Linked DNA regions of Homo sapiens: all the other regions are linked to region 1. Evidence: promoter capture Hi-C in human tissues and cell types (Jung and others, 2019). All regions are on one chromosome and are shown on one strand. The core of a region is centred on a gene start or on the middle of the fragment in contact, and the rest is flanking DNA. Distances in the headings are between cores, read along the strand shown.

Region 1 (3,188 bases), core at 689-3,188:
GAGCTGTCTACAAGCTCTAGTCACTCAAACAAATATAAATGAGAGAATGGAAAAGCAGATCTCCTGTTCCTGTCTCACCTCTTTGGGTAATATGAACAGCCAGTGGGACAGGTAAAACCCCTGTTTCTCAGTCCTCAGCTCCCTGCCCCCTACCTCTGAAGGTAGCCTCTTCCTATTCCAGTCTGAGGACCCTAGGGCAGAGATCAAGTAAATGACCCATGACCTAGTTTTTGCAGCTCAATTGCAAAACACCTGGCTTGGCTTGGTCTTGATTGGGGGAAGGGATGTCCCTGCTATGGCTCAACTTCTAACTCACTGGGTCTCTGTCCTGCATTCCACTGAAGCCTCAGAGGCATCTCACAGCACTGGGAAAAGCCTTGGAAACTTGCATTCAAATCTCAGCTTGGCCACTAATTCTCTGGGTGACCTTGAGTCCTCTGGGCTCCAATGTGAAATGGGGAAGAGGTTTAGACAATATTTAGATGGCTCTTTAAAAGTACTGGGGGCCAGCTGTTTGGGAGGCTGAGGCAGGAGGATCACTTGAAGTCAGGAGTTCAAGACCAGCCTGGCCAACATGTGAAACCCCGTCTCTACTAAAAATACATAAATTAGCCCAGTGTGGTGGCACACAGCTCTAATTCCAGCTACTTGGAGGCTGAGGCAGGAGAATCGCTTGAACCTGGGAGGTGGAGGTTGCAGTGAGCCAAGATCACGCCACTGCACTCCAGCCTGGGTGGCAGAGTGAGACTCTCTCTCAAACAAACAAACAAACAAAAGTACCAGGGGAGGAATTAATTTGAATTTTATCCTAGTGTTAGCCAATTGGTCCCATCCAAGGAAAATTTAGAAAAGGGAAGGGGATGTGTAAAGGAAACACTAGGCCCCACCTAGATGGTGGCTGGAGCTTCTGATAGTCCTGTACTCTCCACATTTTTAGACTTTCTTGTACTTTTTTTTTTTTTTTTGTGACGGAGTCTGCTCTGTCGCCAGGCTAGAGTGCATGGGCACAATCTCGGCTCACTGCAACCTCTGCCTCCTGGGTTCAAGTGATTCTCCTGCCTCAGCCTCCCGAGTAGGTGGGACTACAGGTGCACGCCACCAAGACCAGCTAATTTTTTTTTTTTTTTTTTTTACTAGAGACGGGGTTTCACCATGTTGGCCAGGATGGTCTCAATTTCTTGACCTTGTGATCCGCCTGCCTTGGTCTCCCAAAGTGTTGGGATTACAGGCGTGAGCCACCGAGCCCGGCCATTTTTAGATTTTTTTTTATAGCCCTTTTACCCCTCCCACTTCTTGTGCTGTCTTGGTGTGTGTATGAAAAAGAGAGAGAGAGAGAGAGGAAGGAGAGCAAGAGTGAGAGAAAAAGAGAATATGGTTACTTAGCCCTTTTTCCCAAATCTGTTTTTGCTTTTGGGGATAGGATATGGTTATGGTGAAGTACTCCACACAGACCCCACCAAGTTTGCCTCTCCTGCGCTACAGCCACTGAGCAGGTGACTGAGGCGCTGTTGATCCAGGGTCATATCCTTACTCGCCCTAGAATGTAAGCTCAGGCAGGGCAGAGGCCATGCCTGACATGTGCATCCCAATGCTTTACACAGCCTAGGTGCCTAGCACATGCTAGATGCTTGGTAAATATTTGCTGAATGAAAGATCAAATGAATGATTGCAGCAAGCAAGTCCTGTAGGCATCCTGGAGCCCAAGGATTCTGCAGTAGGCAGCTTTCACAGAGGTTCTTCCAGTGTAGTGGCTCTAGCTCTGGGTGAAGTAGGATCATCAATGTCGGCCCCCAGGGTTCACAGCTGTTCTGAGCCCCGCCCCCAGGTGGCAGGGCAGCCCAGTCAGTCAGTCACGTGCTGGCGGCTGGCCAATCATCGGGGGCGGCGCGGGGAGGGGTGGTGTGGACGGAGAAAGTGAAAGGTGAGGCACGGCCCTGCAGATTTTCCAGCGGATCCCCCGGTGGCCTCATGTCGCGCAGTGGAACCGATCCTCAGCAACGCCAGCAGGCGTCAGAGGCGGACGCCGCAGCAGCAACCTTCCGGGCAAACGGTAACTGCACCGCGGCAGGGACTCGCTGGGGCGCGGAGCCGAGCCCTCCCCTTCCTTAGGAAGCTTTCGTCCCCTCCGAAGGTTGGAACGCTCATCCCGAGCCAGACCGACAAGGCGTACAGTCTGCAGGCCTGTACGAGCAGCAGGCCAATTGGCGCTGGGAAAGTCCAATCCTGGGCCTCTAGCTCCTGAGCGGGACAGGGCCGAGAGGGCGCTCCCGAGCTTGGGCCTGCTGGTGGGTGAGACCCAGGAGAGAGGGAGCTAGAGAGCTCTGAGGACTGATCTTGACTGTCTGCCCCCAGACCATCAGCATATCCGCTACAACCCGCTGCAGGATGAGTGGGTGCTGGTGTCAGCTCACCGCATGAAGCGGCCCTGGCAGGGTCAAGTGGAGCCCCAGCTTCTGAAGACAGTGCCCCGCCATGACCCTCTCAACCCTCTGTGTCCTGGGGCCATCCGAGCCAACGGAGAGGTAAGCCTGTAGAGCCCTGCATCTGCAGGCTGGGCCACGGGGAGTAGTTCCCTCTTAGAACTGTCCTCCACCCACAGGGATAGTGAACCTCCTTCTGGGTCATATCCCACCAAGCTTTTTGGTCCCCTAGGGTGGGCCTTCCCTACTCCCTTGTAGCCTGTCCAGTCTTTGAAGCCCACCAGGTAACTGGTGGTATGGGGCAGTGAGTGCTTCTAGCCTATCCTTGTCGGTAGGTGAATCCCCAGTACGATAGCACCTTCCTGTTTGACAACGACTTCCCAGCTCTGCAGCCTGATGCCCCCAGTCCAGGTAACCTGGCTCCAACTGCTGCTGGGGAGGAGGGTGGCTAGACCTCTTGAGGGACTTCTGCTGCAGAGAGTGATACTCCTTTACCTCAGGACCCAGTGATCATCCCCTTTTCCAAGCAAAGTCTGCTCGAGGAGTCTGGTAACTATGGATTTCCCCTCTTACAACTTTCAAACCAGAGTTGGAGACTCAGCATTGGGGTTCGGCCCTGCCCGTAGCACAGCCAAGCCCTACCTCTCGGTTATCTTTTCTCCCGTCACCACCCAGTAAGGTCATGTGCTTCCACCCCTGGTCGGATGTAACGCTGCCACTCATGTCGGTCCCTGAGATCCGGGCTGTTGTTGATGCATGGGCCTCAGT
Region 2 (2,822 bases), core at 240-2,739, 730 kb before region 1:
TGTAATCCCAGCTACTCGGGAGGCTGAAGGCAAGAGAATTGCTTGAACCCGGGAGGCAGAGGTTGCAGTGAGCTGAGATCGCGCCACTGCACTCCAGCCTGGGAAACAAAGCAAGACACCGTCTCAAAAGAAAAAAAAAAAAAAGACAGTCAGCTGGGCACAGTGGCTCACGCCTGTAATCCCAGGACTTTGGGAGGCCGAGGCGGGCAGATTGCTTGAGCCCAGGAGTTTGAGACAAGCCTGGGCAACATGGCAAAATACCATCTCTACAAAAAAATTAGCCAGGAGAGGTGGCTTATACCTGTAATCCCAGCTACTTGGGAGTCTGAGGTGGGAGGATTGCTTGAGCTCTGGAGCCAGAGGTTGCAATGAGCTGAGATTGCGTCACTGTGCTCTAGCCTGGGTGACAGTGGGAGACCTTGTCTCAAAAAAAAAAAAAAAATCAAATAGTTGGCCAGGGGACCAACATGGACTAAACTGAGGTAGTAGTAATGGGGATGAGGGGACAGATATAAAAATATTTAAGCTGTAAAGCAATAGGTCTTTGGAGTGAGATTTATTATTTTAAGAAGCAATGCTCATTTATTCAGAGAAGTAAAATGGGAGAAACTGTCCATAGAGGTAGAAAATGCATATGCAGTCTACCTCTGCATATGGAACATTAGGACAGAGGCTTCCAAAAGGCATTTGTTTATATAAGCCAAGAGCTGTCAGCATAAAGGGAGTGGTGGTTAAAATTATGGGAACAGAGATGATGTCCCAGGGAGAGTGCTGAGAGTGTGGAGATTGAAGCCCAGAAGCCTCAGGACCATCAATATTCAAAGCAAGGCAACAGAAGAAAAGCTTCAAGCACAACTAAGAGATTGACATTAGGAAGATCAGGAAGAGTGGTCTAGTCTTGATGACTCAAATTTTTATAATTGTTGAAGGAAACAATTTATTGTTTGTTCATTCATACAATCAGTATTTATTGCACACCTCTTATGTGCCAGGCTATGTGCTAGGCACTGACTGGGGAAATGGGACTAAGAAAGACATTTACGCTCACATTCAAATATGTGGAGACAGAAGAGTGAGCAAGCAAAAAATACTAGATAGTGCTAAGTAGGATAATGTGAAAGAATGACTAGATGGCTGCTTTAAATTGGGTTGTCAGGCCAGGCCTTCTCTAAGGTGATATTTAAGCCTTAATATCTGAGGCCGTGATTCTGAGTGACAGGAAGGAGCCAGGCATGTGTGGGGCAGGGGAAGAGCAACTGGTCCAGACAGAAAAATCAACAAGGTGTGTCCGAGATGCCAAAAAAAGACCAGGGTGAATGTGTTGAAGGGCTGGAGAAAATACAAGAGTGGGTCATGTGGCCGGGTGCAGTGGCTCATGCCTGTAATCCCAACACTTTGGGAAGCCGAGGTGGGCAGATCATGAGGCCAGGAGTTCGAGACCAGCCTGGCCAACATGGTGAAACCCCATCTCTACTAAAAATACAAAATTTAGCCCGGTGGGGTGGCGGGAGCCTGTAATCTCAGCTACTTGGGAGGCTGAGGCAGGAGAATTGCTTGAACCTGGGAGATGGAGGTTGCAGTGGGCCGAGATCACGCCGCTGCACTCCAGCCTGGGTGACAGAGCAAGACTCCGTCTTGGGTGGGGAAGAGTGGGTCGTGCAAGACACTGGAATCTGGCATAGGCATTTGAATTTTACTGTCAGTGAAAATTAAGAGGATAATTAAATTAAGAATTGTTGGGGCACTTGAGTTTGGTGGTGAGGTGACTAGGCCAAAACCCTAGCCAATCCCCTAAGCACCCCACCCCACATTAAACCAGAGTGGGACGTTTTATTCACATATGCAACCTTTATGATCTAGCCCCAAGAAACTAGGAGGCGTATTAGCCCTTCTATTATCTATTCTTATTCTGGCAGTTATCCCTGTGCTTCACACATGCAAACAACAAAGCATGACATTCCGCCCACTAAGTCAATACCTGTTCTGATTCTTAAGTCGCCGACCTATTGGCCCTTACATGAATCGGAGGACAGCCAGTTGACGAGGTGATTCTGGCTATAATTGATCCACTGCTTTAAACTCCCTTGATATTAACAGTGTATTTCCCCTCCTAAAAAGTCAAAGTTTACTTCAAAATTGTACCCAGTGGGTTGAAAGCATTTGGTGTAGTACAGGGTATCTGTCAGATGCTTTCAGGCAGGTACTGAAGTTTGGAGAGCTGAGTCATAAGTAATATTGATTATTTAAGGCCAATTATAAATCTGTCTTAAAAAAAGACTTACCGTAAACCATTTCTGTGTCAACCTCCCTTCAGGAAACAAGTTTCAGCCACTAAGGCCGAAGCAGAAAAGGATGGAGTGAAGGTCCCCACAACCCTGGCGGAATACTGCATCAAAACTAAAGTGCCTTCCAATGACAACAGCTCAGATTTGCTTTACGACGACTTGTATGATGACGACATTGATGATGAAGATGAGGAGGAGGAAGATGCCGACTGTTATGATGATGATGATTCTGGGAATGAGGAGTCGTGACGTGCTCCTTCAGTGCCCCTGTACTGCCCTGCCATCTCAGGCCAAAGGGAGGGGAGCAAGTGGGGACCTGGCCATGGCCCCTCAGCAAAAACCTATTCACAGCGGGTGGGGAAACACACACAGCTCCTGCTGACTCCCCTTATGGATCTCAGTTTGCTCCTTTTTATGGACCTTTAATGGAGAGAGAGTAACCCTCCACAGAATGTCTGAATTCTTGCATTCTTTACCCTTCCATCACTATATTGATTCTTTTTTTAAAAAATATGAACCCAAACTCCCGCCTCACTT
Region 3 (2,914 bases), core at 233-2,732, 940 kb after region 1:
AACAGGAGGATTTGGAAGCACAAATAAACAAGGCAAAGCAGTTTATTGGGTGAATCAAATTACTGATAAACATCCTACCTGTGAAATAACTATTCAGGGAAAGAAATTTAAAGGTTTGGTAGATACAGGAGTGGACGTTTCAATCATTTATCTACAGCACTGGCCGTCCACGTGGCCAATTCAACCCGCTCAATTTAACATAGTTGGAGTTGGTAAAGCCCCTGAAGTATATTAAAGTAGTTATATTTTGCATTGTGAAGGGCCCAATGGACAACCTGGACTATTCAACCAATTATAACTTCTGTACCTATAAATTTATTACAACAATGGGGAGCACAAGTTCTAATTCCAGAACAATTATACAGCCCTCAAAGTCAACATATGATGCATAAAATGGGGTATGTTCCTGGTACGGGACTAGGAAAAAATTTGCAAAGTTCGAAGGAACCGCTTCAAGCGGAAAGACAAATTTCCCACCAAGGTTTAAGATTATTATTTTTGATGGCGGCCATTTTTAAGCCTCCAGAACCTATACCTTTAAAATGGTTAATGAATAAGCCAATTTGGATAGAACAATGGCCACTGAGTAAAGAGAAACTGGAGGCTTTAGAGGACTTAGTTACTGAACAATTAGAAAAAGAACACATAGCTCCAACATTTTCCCCTTGGAATTCTCCAGTTTTCATAATTAAGAAAAAATCAGGTAAATGGAGAATGTTAACTGACTTAAGGGCCATTAATTCAATTATACAACCTATGGGGACATTACAGCCAGGACTGCCTTCTCCTGCTATGATTCCAAAAAACTGGTCTTTAATAGTCATAGATTTAAAAGACTGTTTCTTTACTATCCCCTTAGCTAAGCAAGACTGAATGGTTTGCATTTACAATTCTTGCAGTAAACAACCTGCAGCCTGCTAAGCATTTTCATTAGAAAGTGTTGCCTCAAGGCATGTTGAACAGTCCAACAATTTGCCAGACTTATGTAAGACAAGCAATTGAACCGACTCGTAAAAAATTTCCACAGTGTTACATTACTCATTGTATAGAAGATATAATTTGTGCTGCCCCCACTCGAGAAATATTACTCCAATGTTATGATCACTTGCAAAACTTGATTTTTCCTGCCAGTTTAATTATAGCCCCTGACAAATTTCAGACTACTACTCCTTACTCCTACTTGGGGACCTTAGTAAATGACACTACAATTGTGCCACAGAAAGTAACCATACGTAGAGATCAATTGAAAACATTAAATGACTTTCAAAAATGACTAAAGACCATTAATTGGACACAACCTGCTCTAGGCATTCCTACCTATGCCATGAGTAATCTATTTTCTATCCTTAGAGGAGATCTTAGTCTCACTAGCCCTCAACAATTAACAAAGGAGGCTGAGGCAGAGTTACAGCTGATTAAAAAGCAAGTCCATAAGGCCTACCCGGAAAAATCTCACTGCCTCTCCCCAGACTATTACTTGTTAGATGGAACTCTCCCCCACTTAATGGGTTCCACCTGAACCCCCTCACTGCTATTATGTGGACCTGGAAAGTTGGGTATCTATACTTCTAGTGCACTAATGATTCTATCTTTGGCACCCAGTGTTGTGTTAATGACACAAAAGCCAAGTTTCCTGCAATGCTCTGATCCAGCCTTAGTTGCCAAGTTCCCAATGCCACAGCAAAGTAAATGGGATAGAACTTGTAAGCAATGAGACCATCTATGGTTCCTTCCCCTGGATCAGAACATACAGGAGAAAAAAAAAAAGGAACACATGGGAGAAAAACAACTATTTAGTCTGGGAAGGTGGGAGTACCTCCTCCCCTTTTGGAAAACAAAGATTGTTCAACCACCCCAATTAGAACAGGGAAAAATATCTCTATAGACACAACTTGGCAGCAAAGGGTAGGCATCGCACCCCGTAGGGACCCTGTTTGTGCTCCAACTGGGCTTGTTTTTGTTTGTGGCCATGAGTGGGAAGAAGTCATGCCCTGTAACCACTCCTGACTCCCTGGGGAGTCACCTGTTCTTTTAAGAATAGCTTTCCCTTGTATATCAAAAACATGAAACAGAGGTGACTGTATGTTGGCCACCCTTTCCCCTCCAGGAGTCACACAGTCTATAACCCCGTAAGACCCAAGAACACCAGAAATAAATGAGCAATAGTGTTACTGGTTGAGGGTAGTTGTCCAGGTTCTTGGCGTTTTGAACAAATAATCAGACAAAACACACAAAGCAAGGCAGTAAAAGCAGAAACTTATTTTAAGTAAAAGCACACCCCATAGGGTAGGAGTGGGCTCAAGCAAGTGGCTCAAGAGCATCAGTTACAGAATTTTCTGGGGTTTAAATACCCTCTAGAGACCAGGCGTGGTGGCTCACACCTGTAATCTCAGCACTTTGGGAGGCCAAGGCGAGTGGATCACCTGAGGTCAGGAGTTCCAGACAAGCCTGACCAACATGGTAAAACCCCATCTCTACTAAAAATACAAAATTAGCTGGGTGTGGTGGTGCATGCCTGTAATCCCAGCTACTCGGGAGGCTGAGGCAGGAGAACTGCTTGAACCTGGGATGCAGAGGTTGCAGTGGGCCAAGATCACACCACTGAACTCCAGCCTGGGCAACAAGAGCAAACCTCCGTCTCAAAAACAAAATAACACAAAACAAAAAACTACAAGTTTGGAAAACATATTGGAGGGAATAATTGAGGAAAACTTCCCTGGCCTTGCTAGAGATCTAGACATCCAAATACAATAAGCTCAAGGAATACCTGGGAAATTCATCGCATGAAGACTATCACCTAGGCACATAGTCATCAGGTTATCTAAAGTCAAGACAAAGGAAAGAATCTTAAGAGCTGTGAGGCAATAGCATCAGGTAAACTATAAAGGAAAACCTATCAGATTAACAGCAGATT

What was found. Contacts are between HindIII fragments. The study calls those that stand out against the background at their distance.
Region 2: a contact is called between a fragment that was not itself captured here and the fragment with the promoter of GALT in region 1, in 2 of the 25 tissues and cell types used here (dorsolateral prefrontal cortex and heart left ventricle).
Region 3: a contact is called between a fragment that was not itself captured here and the fragment with the promoter of GALT in region 1, in 2 of the 25 tissues and cell types used here (H1 embryonic stem cells and liver).

What each region holds. Positions count from the first base shown.
Region 1 is chr9:34,644,737-34,647,924 of GRCh38, forward strand. GALT (galactose-1-phosphate uridylyltransferase) reads left to right here and starts at 1,939. Exons shown (of 11, transcript NM_000155.4): 1 at 1,939-2,050; 2 at 2,353-2,522; 3 at 2,756-2,831; 4 at 2,921-2,969; 5 at 3,096-3,188. The coding sequence starts at 1,969. RefSeq lists a silencer at 176-470 and enhancers at 176-470, 1,684-1,793, 2,364-2,543. The HindIII fragment of the contact is 1,689 bases long and covers 686-2,374 here.
Region 2 is chr9:33,914,704-33,917,525 of GRCh38, forward strand. It overlaps UBE2R2 (ubiquitin conjugating enzyme E2 R2), which reads left to right. Exons shown (of 5, transcript NM_017811.4): 5 at 2,315-2,822. The coding sequence ends at 2,534. Among named protein-coding and RNA genes, the nearest start is that of SNORD121B, 18 kb to the right of the region's middle. The HindIII fragment of the contact is 7,979 bases long and covers 1-2,822 here.
Region 3 is chr9:35,583,907-35,586,820 of GRCh38, forward strand. No RefSeq gene overlaps it. Among named protein-coding and RNA genes, the nearest start is that of TESK1, 20 kb to the right of the region's middle. The HindIII fragment of the contact is 5,243 bases long and covers 1-2,914 here.